3 separate regions of the Homo sapiens genome follow, and regions 2 and 3 are each linked to region 1. Evidence: promoter capture Hi-C in human tissues and cell types (Jung and others, 2019). All regions are on one chromosome and are shown on one strand. The core of a region is centred on a gene start or on the middle of the fragment in contact, and the rest is flanking DNA. Distances in the headings are between cores, read along the strand shown. Region 1 holds the start of NFKB2 (nuclear factor kappa B subunit 2). Region 2 overlaps GBF1 (golgi brefeldin A resistant guanine nucleotide exchange factor 1). Region 3 overlaps GBF1 (golgi brefeldin A resistant guanine nucleotide exchange factor 1).

The links. Contacts are between HindIII fragments. The study calls those that stand out against the background at their distance.
Region 2: a fragment that was not itself captured here is called in contact with the fragment with the promoter of NFKB2 in region 1 in 3 of the 25 tissues and cell types used here (bladder, hippocampus and neural progenitor cells).
Region 3: a contact is called between a fragment that was not itself captured here and the fragment with the promoter of NFKB2 in region 1, in 2 of the 25 tissues and cell types used here (neural progenitor cells and psoas muscle).

Annotation. Positions count from the first base shown.
Region 1 is chr10:102,394,358-102,397,708 of GRCh38, reverse strand. NFKB2 (nuclear factor kappa B subunit 2) reads right to left here and starts at 2,004. Exons shown (of 23, transcript NM_001322934.2): 1 at 1,913-2,004; 2 at 1,729-1,821; 3 at 1,375-1,456; 4 at 1,220-1,260; 5 at 886-984; 6 at 654-805; 7 at 301-407; 8 at 24-182. The coding sequence starts at 1,749. RefSeq lists enhancers at 1,409-1,528, 1,939-1,988, 3,039-3,328 and a silencer at 3,339-3,351. The HindIII fragment of the contact is 8,929 bases long and covers 1-3,351 here.
Region 2 is chr10:102,280,954-102,284,304 of GRCh38, reverse strand. The region is part of intron 3 of GBF1 (golgi brefeldin A resistant guanine nucleotide exchange factor 1); the gene reads right to left. Among named protein-coding and RNA genes, the nearest start is that of GBF1, 37 kb to the right of the region's middle. The HindIII fragment of the contact is 3,528 bases long and covers 1-3,351 here.
Region 3 is chr10:102,325,435-102,328,785 of GRCh38, reverse strand. The region is part of intron 3 of GBF1 (golgi brefeldin A resistant guanine nucleotide exchange factor 1); the gene reads right to left. Among named protein-coding and RNA genes, the nearest start is that of NFKB2, 69 kb to the left of the region's middle. The HindIII fragment of the contact is 7,490 bases long and covers 1-3,351 here.

The sequences.
Region 1 (3,351 bases), core at 755-3,254:
CCCCAGGCAATCAGGATACTCACTGCTGTCATGGATGGGCTGGGAGATGACTGGCTTCAGGGGCAGGGAGAAGGAGCCATCACTGGCTCTAAGGAAGGCAGAGAAGCGCAGCCGCACTATACTCAGATCCATCACCTTCTTCAGTTCTTTGGCCTCTTGCTCCAGCTCCCGCTGCTCGGCCTCTGGGCAGTAGGTACATGTGTGACCCCTGGGCTTCTCCCTCCCTGCTCCTTCCATGAGCACCTCCCATGACCCACCCACCCCCTGCACCCATACCCGACCCACCCCCTGCACCCATACCCGTAAGGCCCTGGGGCCTAGAGCGGAGCCGCTGCCTCTGAAGTTTTTGTATCATAGTCCCCATCATGTTCTTCTTAGTCACATGCAGGACACCCAGGTTGTTAAATCTGAGAAGAGAGAATCGGAGGCCTTTGGCCATGCAGTTCTTTCTTCCTGAGGCACCTTTCCCATTGCCAGGGCTCAGCTCAGCCTTACTTCCTCAAGGAAGCCATTGGAGTTTCTACTTAGGCCCTTGGGTTTGGGGCCAACCTACATCTTTCCCCTTGGTCAGATGCTAAGCTCATGGAGGTGGGCTGGGGCCTGGGACTGGCAGACGGGCATACCAGTGGGGGCCAGGCGTAGAGGGCACCTACTGGGCAGTCATGTCCTTGGGCCCCACAGAAACGGCGCAGATCCCCAGCTCCGAGCATTGCTTGCCCACCAGACTGTGGGCATGAGCACGAGGTGGGTCACTGTGTGTTACCAGGTCCACCTCGATCTTGGCTGGTCCCTCGTAGTTACAGATCTAGGAGAGGCAGGGACTGTCAGTCAGGGCCTTGGGCATGCTGTCCACTTAGCCCACCCTCCAGCACCATCCTGGCTCACCTTGACAGTGGGATAGGTCTTTCGGCCCTTCTCACTGGAGGCACCGGGCAGTCCTCCATGGGAGGGGCCTTCACAGCCATATCGAAATCGGAAGCCTCTCTGAAGGTCCAAGGGCATAGTAGCATTGTGATCAGGGAAGACCACCCAGGCCAGCAGTGACCGCAGTGCCTGGTAGTAGCCCTGAACCAAACTACAGCACTCTGATCAGCAGCAGTGACCATCCAATCCCCTGTGGCCTCCTTCGGCAATGGCTCCTCCATGGCCAGCCAGCTACCACTACCCCATTTGTCCCCAAAGCTGAAGCCATTCCACACCCTCCCTTTTGCTCACTCACCTGCTTAGGCTGTTCCACGATCACCAGGTAGGGGCCATCAGCTGGGGACAGAGAGACCTTGCTGAGCCACGATCTCCCAGCCCCTCCCCCAGAGAGAGGGCACATGCTCTCCCTCCCCCGCTTTAGGACTAGGGGAGGTTAGTGAACTTGCTGACCTGTTTCTGGGGCTGGCTCCTTGGGTTCCACAATGGAGGAGTTCAATTTGAAATCATCATATTCAATAATACCATCCAGACCCTGGTTTGGAGACAGACTGGGGGTGGCATCCGACTCTCAGCACCCCCCACAGCCCCACCTCCCATCTCCAAGTCTTCAGTGGTCACTCCCCCCTCCTCCTCAGACCCAAGAGAAAGCTCCTTTTGGAGGCAGAGTTGCAGACAGATGGACAGACTGGCAGGCTGAGAGCATCTGCGAGCATACAGGTGTAAGGCAGCAGAGGGGGCTCGGGCAGACAGGTGGACAGACACGAGGGGCAGCCGGCCGGGTCAGGGGCAGGCGGCATGACTCACTGGGTTGTAGCAACTCTCCATGTCTCTGGGCTAGGCCCGGCTCTGTCTAGTGGCTCCGGCCAGGTTCTGCTTCCCAGAATTTTAGACGCCCGCCTAAAGTTGGGAGGAGTGGCGTGGGGGAGGGGGTCAGATCTAAATGGGGGTGGGCGGGAGATGGGGGCCCAGATTTGGGGGAGGGTCCGACCTCCTCCAGCCGCCTGTCCGGGTGTGGCGGGTGAGATCCGGTGGAGAGCGAGATCCGGAGTTGGGCTTGGCCGGGGAAGGGGCAGGAAAGTTAGAGCAGCTTAGGAAAGTCCCGAAAATACCAAGGGGAGGCGGGGCCGGAGGGGGCGGGCCTGGAAATGACGCCACTGGCCCCGCCCTCGCGACGGGAGGGGCGGGAGGCCCTCGACAGTCTACGGGCTCCCGCTGCTTTTCAGCGGGCAGAGGTCTAGGAGAATCCGGGAAGCCCCGGTGGGGGTTAAGCCCCCTCCTCCCTCCAGGGCAGGGAACAGGAGGGTCTTTCACGGCCGGGAGGAGGCTGGCAGTCTGGGGCCAAGTCCGCCTCCCGCTCCCCTCCCCCGGTCTGGAGCAACCTTGGGATTTTCTGCCAGGAGGGAGGCCACGGCTGATAAACCCCGGGGGCTTTTGGGGGGACATTCCTGCTGTCGGACGGCCTCCCCTTCGAACAGCCTGTAGGCGGGGGCTCTTTCCTGTGGGAGGCCCCGGGGTTCTGCCCCGAGAACGCGATTCTGGGGCTGCGGGAAAAGTGTCTCCTCCTCGGAGTGGGCTCTTTTCTCTCTCTCCCAAACCTCACAACAGCAGCTGGTCCCACACCGCACCGGTTCTGGGCGCGCAGGCGACAGGGAGATCTCTGCACGCTCCCCCCCCCCCCCCCCCACCTAATACAAGAGTGTGTCTCCATCACAGCTCCACAAGTGTGTTTCGGCTGTAGTGCTTGGTTGCATGTTGTGTGTCCATGGCGTCAACATGAGTGTGCAAGCGAGCATGTGTGTAGATAGGTGAATCCCGAGCTTCTCAGTGTGGGTGTGTGTCAGCGCCTGTCTTGATGTACGGACACGGGTGAGCGTATCTTGAGTTTGTGCGTGAAGGGTGTGGGTGCAGGCACCAGTGCACCGGTGGGCACGTCTCCGTGTGCATGTGTGTGCGAGTGCGACTGCACGGACGCTGCCGTGTGTGCGCCAGCACAGGTACAGGTGTACGTACGGGTCCGCGTATCTTTGTACAACGGTGTCGACGTGGATCCGAGTGTCGTCGCCTGCGCGCCCTTTCCGGCTGTGTGCAGCTGCTGCTCTCCAGCCCCAGGCGCTGTCCGCTAAAGGCCCTCCTCCCTCTTTTCTCTTGTCCCGGCCACCCAGGGGTCTGAATCCAGCCACTCACCGTGGCGGCGGCTCTGGTTGCGGCTTCTCTCCGCGCCCGACCCACCTGGGACCGGTCGCGACACCTCGCCTGCCAGCAGGGCTCAGGGCCGGGAAAGCCCCTTCTCGGCCCCCCGGAGGGGGGAATTCCCATGACGTTTCCGTGCGTCACGCCTCGCGCCCTTTTTCATTGGCTGAAAGTTTAACTCTGGACTGGCGCAGCCAACCCGGAGCGACTCGGGCGCGCCCCTGAGAGGGGACAGGC
Region 2 (3,351 bases), core at 364-2,863, 110 kb after region 1:
AAAATGGTTAATTTTATGTTATATGCATTTCACTTCAGTTTTTTAAAAAAGCTCTTGAAAATACAAGTAAAGATCCTCTTATCTCTAATTTGACTTTATTTTTCTAAAGTGCTTTAACAGGATATGAGCTTCCCTTCTAAGAAACCATGAACAATTTCCAGTTAAAGCCTGTCGTGTCTCCTCTATAGTTTTTGTAGAGACAAGCAGGTACCTCAGTCCATAGTGCAAAGGGTCACTTGGGATTCTTGCAAAAAGTGAAACTTACCTAGTTGCTTTCCACTCACCAAAACTGGTTGCAGAAATGTCAGTGGACGTCTATGTCTGTATTCCCACTGGAGGCTCACTGAACCTAAGCTTCTTTAGCAGCTAAAAAGTCTCCCCTCCTTGGAGACTTAACATCTATTGAGACTTCACAAAGATTTCACATTATACAAGACCACAGTAAGAAATTTCCTCCTCTTCCACCACAGCTCAATTCGGAGTTCTTTGGAAACACAGGTACTTCACTGTCTCCTGTTTTGCATTCTGAATAAGAGATCCTCCCACGTTTTTCCCCTACCTACAGGTTAAAACTTGCCAACAGACAAGACTTACTGGTAGAAGCACTTTGAATAGTCATTCTTCATATTGTCACTTTGTCTTTCATATTTCTCTTTCAAATTGTTGAGGCAAAAGCATTTTCAGAGTATGAGGTCTATCCTCTAGTATTCAATACCTGTTACATCTTTGCTGTCATCAACAACCTCCCAGCCTCCTAGCAGAAGGCCTCAGTCACCCAAGCCCTTAAAGACTCCTATAATTGGTGGTTTATACTTTCTCCCCTGTCCTAATCCCACTTCATCATGCCATGAAGATACACAATATTTGCAAATTTTCTAAAGCTCTTTCTCATTGTTTTGCTCATTGCTATTTCCACAGCTTCCTTTTGGAGATAAAGCCAGGCCCTTCCTGGCCTCAAGAATTTACCTGTGCCTGGACACAACTAGAAGAGGGCAATAGTCACCAGAGGGTCCAAACACAGCTTCTATGCTCATAGCTACATATAATAAAAGCATAAACGGAGAATGATCCCCTTTCCCATTAATTAAAATGGCTCTACTAACAAGTGGTTGTTAAGGGTATCAATAAACTGCCTACCCTCTGTCATCTTAGGTTGAAGTACTTTAAAAGTTACCTTTTAGGATCCAGGTACTATCTTCACTACTACTTCTCTGGGCAAGATGAGTGACTCCTTACCTTAAGATCTGATGGTTTGTACCTCAATAGTTTCCACCTCCTTGTGATAATCTTTTAATAGTATCTAGGATCATTAGTAACCCGCTACTTTACCTCCTCTCACCTCTCCCCTTTACTCATCCCTCCGGACAGAGCATTCAGAGTCAGTTAAGTGCCATGTCTTATTGAATTTTTAAATTTTTCTACTATCTCTTAGCACTGCAGTTCTGTGAATCTCCTTACTCCAAGCCAGAACTTCAGCCTACCCAATTAGAGACTGGAATTTAAAAACTCATGTTCCTATTCCCAGATAGTTAACACCACACGTGCTGGAAATAGGCTAGTTGGGTTAGTGTTCATGCTATACTCTCAGCAGACTTTCCTACTGAACCTGGTATCCAACAACAGGGACCAGTAAGCAGCCTGAAGTCTGTTGCCAGGGAACAAGGCTAACTCAGGATTTTCTGCCATCAGTTCCTTTGGTAGACATAGCAGAATCAAAGAGAAAGGGGTTTTCCCAAAATAATTGTGATTAAAATAATAATGTTAATTTGTCTCCAGCAAGACAGAAGAGTCCAGGAACAAGCTAGACTCACCTCTGTCTCTTGTTCCTCTTCAGTAAATGGCCCACCTGAAGGTTAGCTGTAAGTCTGCCCTTATTCACGTGAAAAGCAAATAAATAACCTCATCGCCTTTTTCCAAATCATAATCACACTTTAAAAGAAGCTTTTACTGTATAACCTTGAAAATGTTACTTAATTTTTCTGGAACCTGAGTTTTATCTGTAAAAGGGGAATATTAATAAAGGCACAGTCTATCTTGTGAGTTTTTGTGAAACTTGAAAAGAATACAGGCGGCCGGGCGCGGTGGCTCACACCTGTAATCCCAGCACTTTGAGAGGCCGAGGCGGGTGGATCACAAGATCAGGAGATTGAGACCATCCTGGCTAACACGGTGAAACCCCATCTCTACTAAAAAATACAAAAAAAAAAAAAATTAGCCGGGTGTGGTGGTGGGCGCCTGTAGTCCCAGCTACTCAGGAGGCTGAGGCAGGAGAATGGCAGGAACCTGGGAGGCGGAGCTTGCAGTGAGCCAAGATCGCGCCACTGCACTCCAGCCTGGGCGACAGAGCGAGACTCTGTCTCAAAAAAAAAAAAAAGAAAAGAAAGAAAAAAGAAAAGAAAAAGAATACAGGCAAACTGTTACAGCCAAGTGGAACCTAACAAGATGTGATGACTAAATGTAATGTGGTATCCTAGATGGAATCCTTGAACAGAAAAAGGCCATTAAGTAAAAACCTAATGAAATCTGAATAAAGTATGGACTTTAATTAATGATGAATCAATATTTGTTCATTAATTGTGACAAATGTGTCATATTAATGTAAGATGTTAATAACAGGGGAAACTGGGCATTGGATAGATGAGAACTTCTTTACAACTCTTCTATAAATATGTTTATAGAAATAATCTATTATAGATTATGTATGAGTCTAAGTTATAATATAACAATTTATATAAATATAATTTATAGATAATTTATAAAAATATAATTTATAGATTATAATTTATGTGCTTTATAGATTCTAAAATTGAAAGGCTATAATGAAAAACCACTTTATAAATTATAAAGTTCTAGTCAATTGTAAAATATCACATAATTTAGTAGATTTAGTATTTTATGCAGATTGTTGGTAAGGTAGGTAGCTATCTTAAGTAGCTCAGATAACAGAGATCACTTGAAGAGTTAAGTGCTGGTGTGGAAGAGTCTAGCCCCCAGAAATATCCCAGCTGTTTCCTGCCAGCTGGTGCCTCATGTCTGACTTGCAATAGAGTTGATTTTCTTTACGTAATTATTTTTGCCTCTCAACCCGTCTATTTCACTAAAAGAACAGTAACTTTTTAAAAAGAGGCTTTAAGCAGATAGGTGCTTTAATTTAAAACTTCAAAAAGTGAAACTTAAGGCATGGGTACGATAATTTATTAGGTCCATTTCCTAACTGGCTGAAACAGATCTGATCTCTACTCCCAACTTCAAATGTAGAAACATGCAGACATCCAGAGATAGAATTCAGCAAGTGTACCCATCCCCTGCCAACTCCTGCTCTGCCCTGGGAAAAAAAAGAAAAAGAAGAAA
Region 3 (3,351 bases), core at 299-2,798, 68 kb after region 1:
AAAGAACTAAATTCTGAACTGACATTAGCAAAGTTTACAGATGATGAAAAAGCCTGAAGAGATAATAGTCAAAGCTCCTGGAGAAGAATCAGACAGTCCCCAGTCTCAATAACAGGACTGATAAGTAACCTTTCCCTATCCCTTCAGTGTATAGGACCTTACTTATTCACTCTCACTTACTGTACTATCAGAGTACAGAGTTAATGTTTTCCCAAGAGCTGGAAATAGTTACTACAGCAGCATATCATAAATTCTTAGTGACAACAAGACTAAGGGGTCTTTTTATTTTTATTTTTTTTGAGAGAGGGTTTCACTCTGTCACCCTGGCTGGAGTGCAGTGGCACAGTCTCGGCTCACTGCAACCTCTCAAGTAATCCTTCCACCTCAGCCTCCCAAGTAGCTGGGACTAAAGCGTGTGCCACCACACTTGGCTAATTAAAAAAAATTTTTTCTTTGTAGAGACGAGGTCCTGCTATTATTTCCCAGGCTGGTTTTGAACTCCTGGGTTCAAGTGATCCTCCTTCCTTGGCCTCCCAAAGTGCTAGGATTATAGGCATGAGCCACTGTGCCCAGCCAGATTAAGAAGTCTTTATGCTGTTTCAGCCACCCTCATGCTAAAAGGCTCAAGAACTTTATGATAAGGGATATTTCCCATTTTACTGATGGGGAAAACAAAAGCGTCAAAAATAGATGGAGCTAGGATAAGTATGGTAATCACTTGCCACTGCTGTCTCTAGACATGTCTGTGAGCTGGACAGTAAACAAATAAAGCTTATGGAAGCAGCAGTACCCTGAAAAGTCACACCTTATTTGCTCGAAAGGTGCTGACAGAACCTTTAAGACAGCTGAATCTGGAGGAGCAATCCTCAAAGGGTTGGAAAACAATTTCACAAAACATGGGACAGAAGCTGGGCCCAGCCAACACCTGTTTCCCCAACACTGTCTGTCTGTCTGTCTCTTGTTTTATCCCAACTGCACACTTAATACAAAAGCTCCATTATTCTGGTAAAGTTGCATTCCAGCCCAGAGTGCAGAGTTAATGTTTTTTACAGCCACATGCCTTCTTGTGACGGATGACCACTTTATAATAAAATACTTTATGCTCAATCAACTTACAAATAATGGGTATTCCATTACATGGCATTTAAAACACAACCAAATTCAGAAAAATCCAGAAAGAAATAAGAATAGAAACAAGAATGATTCCTAGAAAGAGAGGAGGGCCGCCAGAGAATCCTCTGTAAGTCCTTCACTCCCAAAGAATTTATCCATTCTCTTATTGAAGGATATTTGAGTTGTTTCCAGTTATTTACTATTACTGCTGTATACATTCCTATAAAAGTCTCTTTGTAAATGTGTTTGTTTCTCTTGACTAAATACCTAAGAGCGAAAGTGCTCAGCCACAGGGTAGATGTGCATTTAACTTTAAAAGAAACAGTTCTTCAATGTTGCTGCACACCCCTCCCCTCTCCACCAGCTCTATATTTTCCTCCCCTAAGGGCCTAGGTTCTTTAAGTTGAGGATTTGGCAGGAGAGAAGAAGCCACATCATGAGGATCCCTGCTGCCAGAGCACAGTGGCCTGAATCGGACACTTAAAAAGCTGAAACAGGTGTTTGAAACCCTACTCCAGCCTCCCTGTTTGGTGCCAGCCCCCTGAGAGGCTAAGGCTTGGCCAGGAGAATTCGGCTCATCTAATGGATGCCGATTAGAGACTTTTACAAGACATAGCTACATAATAGTGTATATGCTGTGACGTGGTACATTTAAAGCAGGTAAGTGAACATCTTAATCTTAAGGAGGGGGGCCTCTGGTGGTCCAAATGCTCTTGAGCAAAGGGTAGTCAGGCTACGTGCCAGATGAAAGCCCTTCACCAACCTCTACCTTTTCTCCTTATATATCCACACAATTGACTACCACTCAGAAAAGCAAAACAGAAAAAAACTACTGATATATGCAACATGGATAAATTCCAAAAACATGCTAAGCTAAAAGAAGCTAGCTATGAAAGAGTATATCCTGTGTGATTCCATTTATATGAAATCCAAAAACAAAACTTATCCATAGTGATAGAAAATGGTTTTGTATATATGTGTGGGGTTGGGGGACTCAAAGAGGCATGGGGGATATTTCTGGGGAGATGAAATGTTCTGTGTATTCTTTATTCATGCTGGTTACATGGTTTATACAATTATCAAAACTTACCAACTGAACACCTAACATCTGCATATTTTATTGTATGTTAATTATACCTCAAGTTGAAAAAAAAGGAAAGCCAGATGGGGGCTTGGGGTGAGCTTCCCCTACTTGGTATTATTTGGGAGAATGAAGAAAGAACAGAAGAAACAAGTTTGCTTCCCAACTCACCAGTCTGGGAGCAGAGACTCAACAGCCAGCTGAACTGCCACCTCAGTGCCCCTTGGGCAACCTTTGTAGAAAAATGAGGTTTTCAGGTGGTAGCTTATAATATTCTCATTGAAGCCCTGTTACTCCCCAAGGGAATGATATTGAAATGTCTTCAACAGTGTTTACTTCCCCATTGCTAAAAGTATGATCAGCATTCCAATTTAGAAGCAAGTTTACATACTTGGCGTAAACTTGCATACTAGGCCCTGAGCACTTAGAACTCAGATAGCGTTCAAAAAAATTAAATTATAACCATAGTAATAGACAAGTAAGACAGATCTTTAGTTCCAGAGCTGCCACTACTCCGTTATGAGGCCTTGCATGACATGACCTTTTCCGAGCCACAGTTCTTTCCGTATAAAATAGGCCAGGTGACCTCTATACTTCATTTCAGTTCTAACACTGTATGATTTTAGAACTCTTATAAGTGTAGGCTGGGCGCAGTGGCTCACACCTATAATCCCAGCACTTTGGGAGGCCGAGGCAGGTGGATCACTTGAGGTCAGGAGTTCAAGACCAGCCTCGCCAACATGGCAAAACCCCATCTCTACTAAAAATACAAAAATTAGTTAGGTGTGGTGGCATGTGCCTGTAATCCCACCTACTCGGGAGGCTGAGGCACGAGAATCGCTTGAACTCAGGAGGCGGAGGGTGCAGTGAGCCAAGATTGTGCCACCGCACTCCAGCCTGGGTGACAGAGTGAGACTGTGTCTTAAAAAAAAACAAAAACAAAAAAAACTTTTGTAAGTTCATATGGGTTCCAGTATGAGACGGGCAAGGAAAGCCCTATAGTCCTTCTCAGCATTTTTTCTTTCTTTTTTTTTTTTTTTTGAGACGGAGTCTTGCTCTGTCGCTCAGGCTTGGAGTGCAGTGGAGCAATCTCAGCTCACTGCAACCTCCGTCTCCTGAGTTCAAGCAATTCTCCTGCCTCAGCCTCCCAAGGAGCT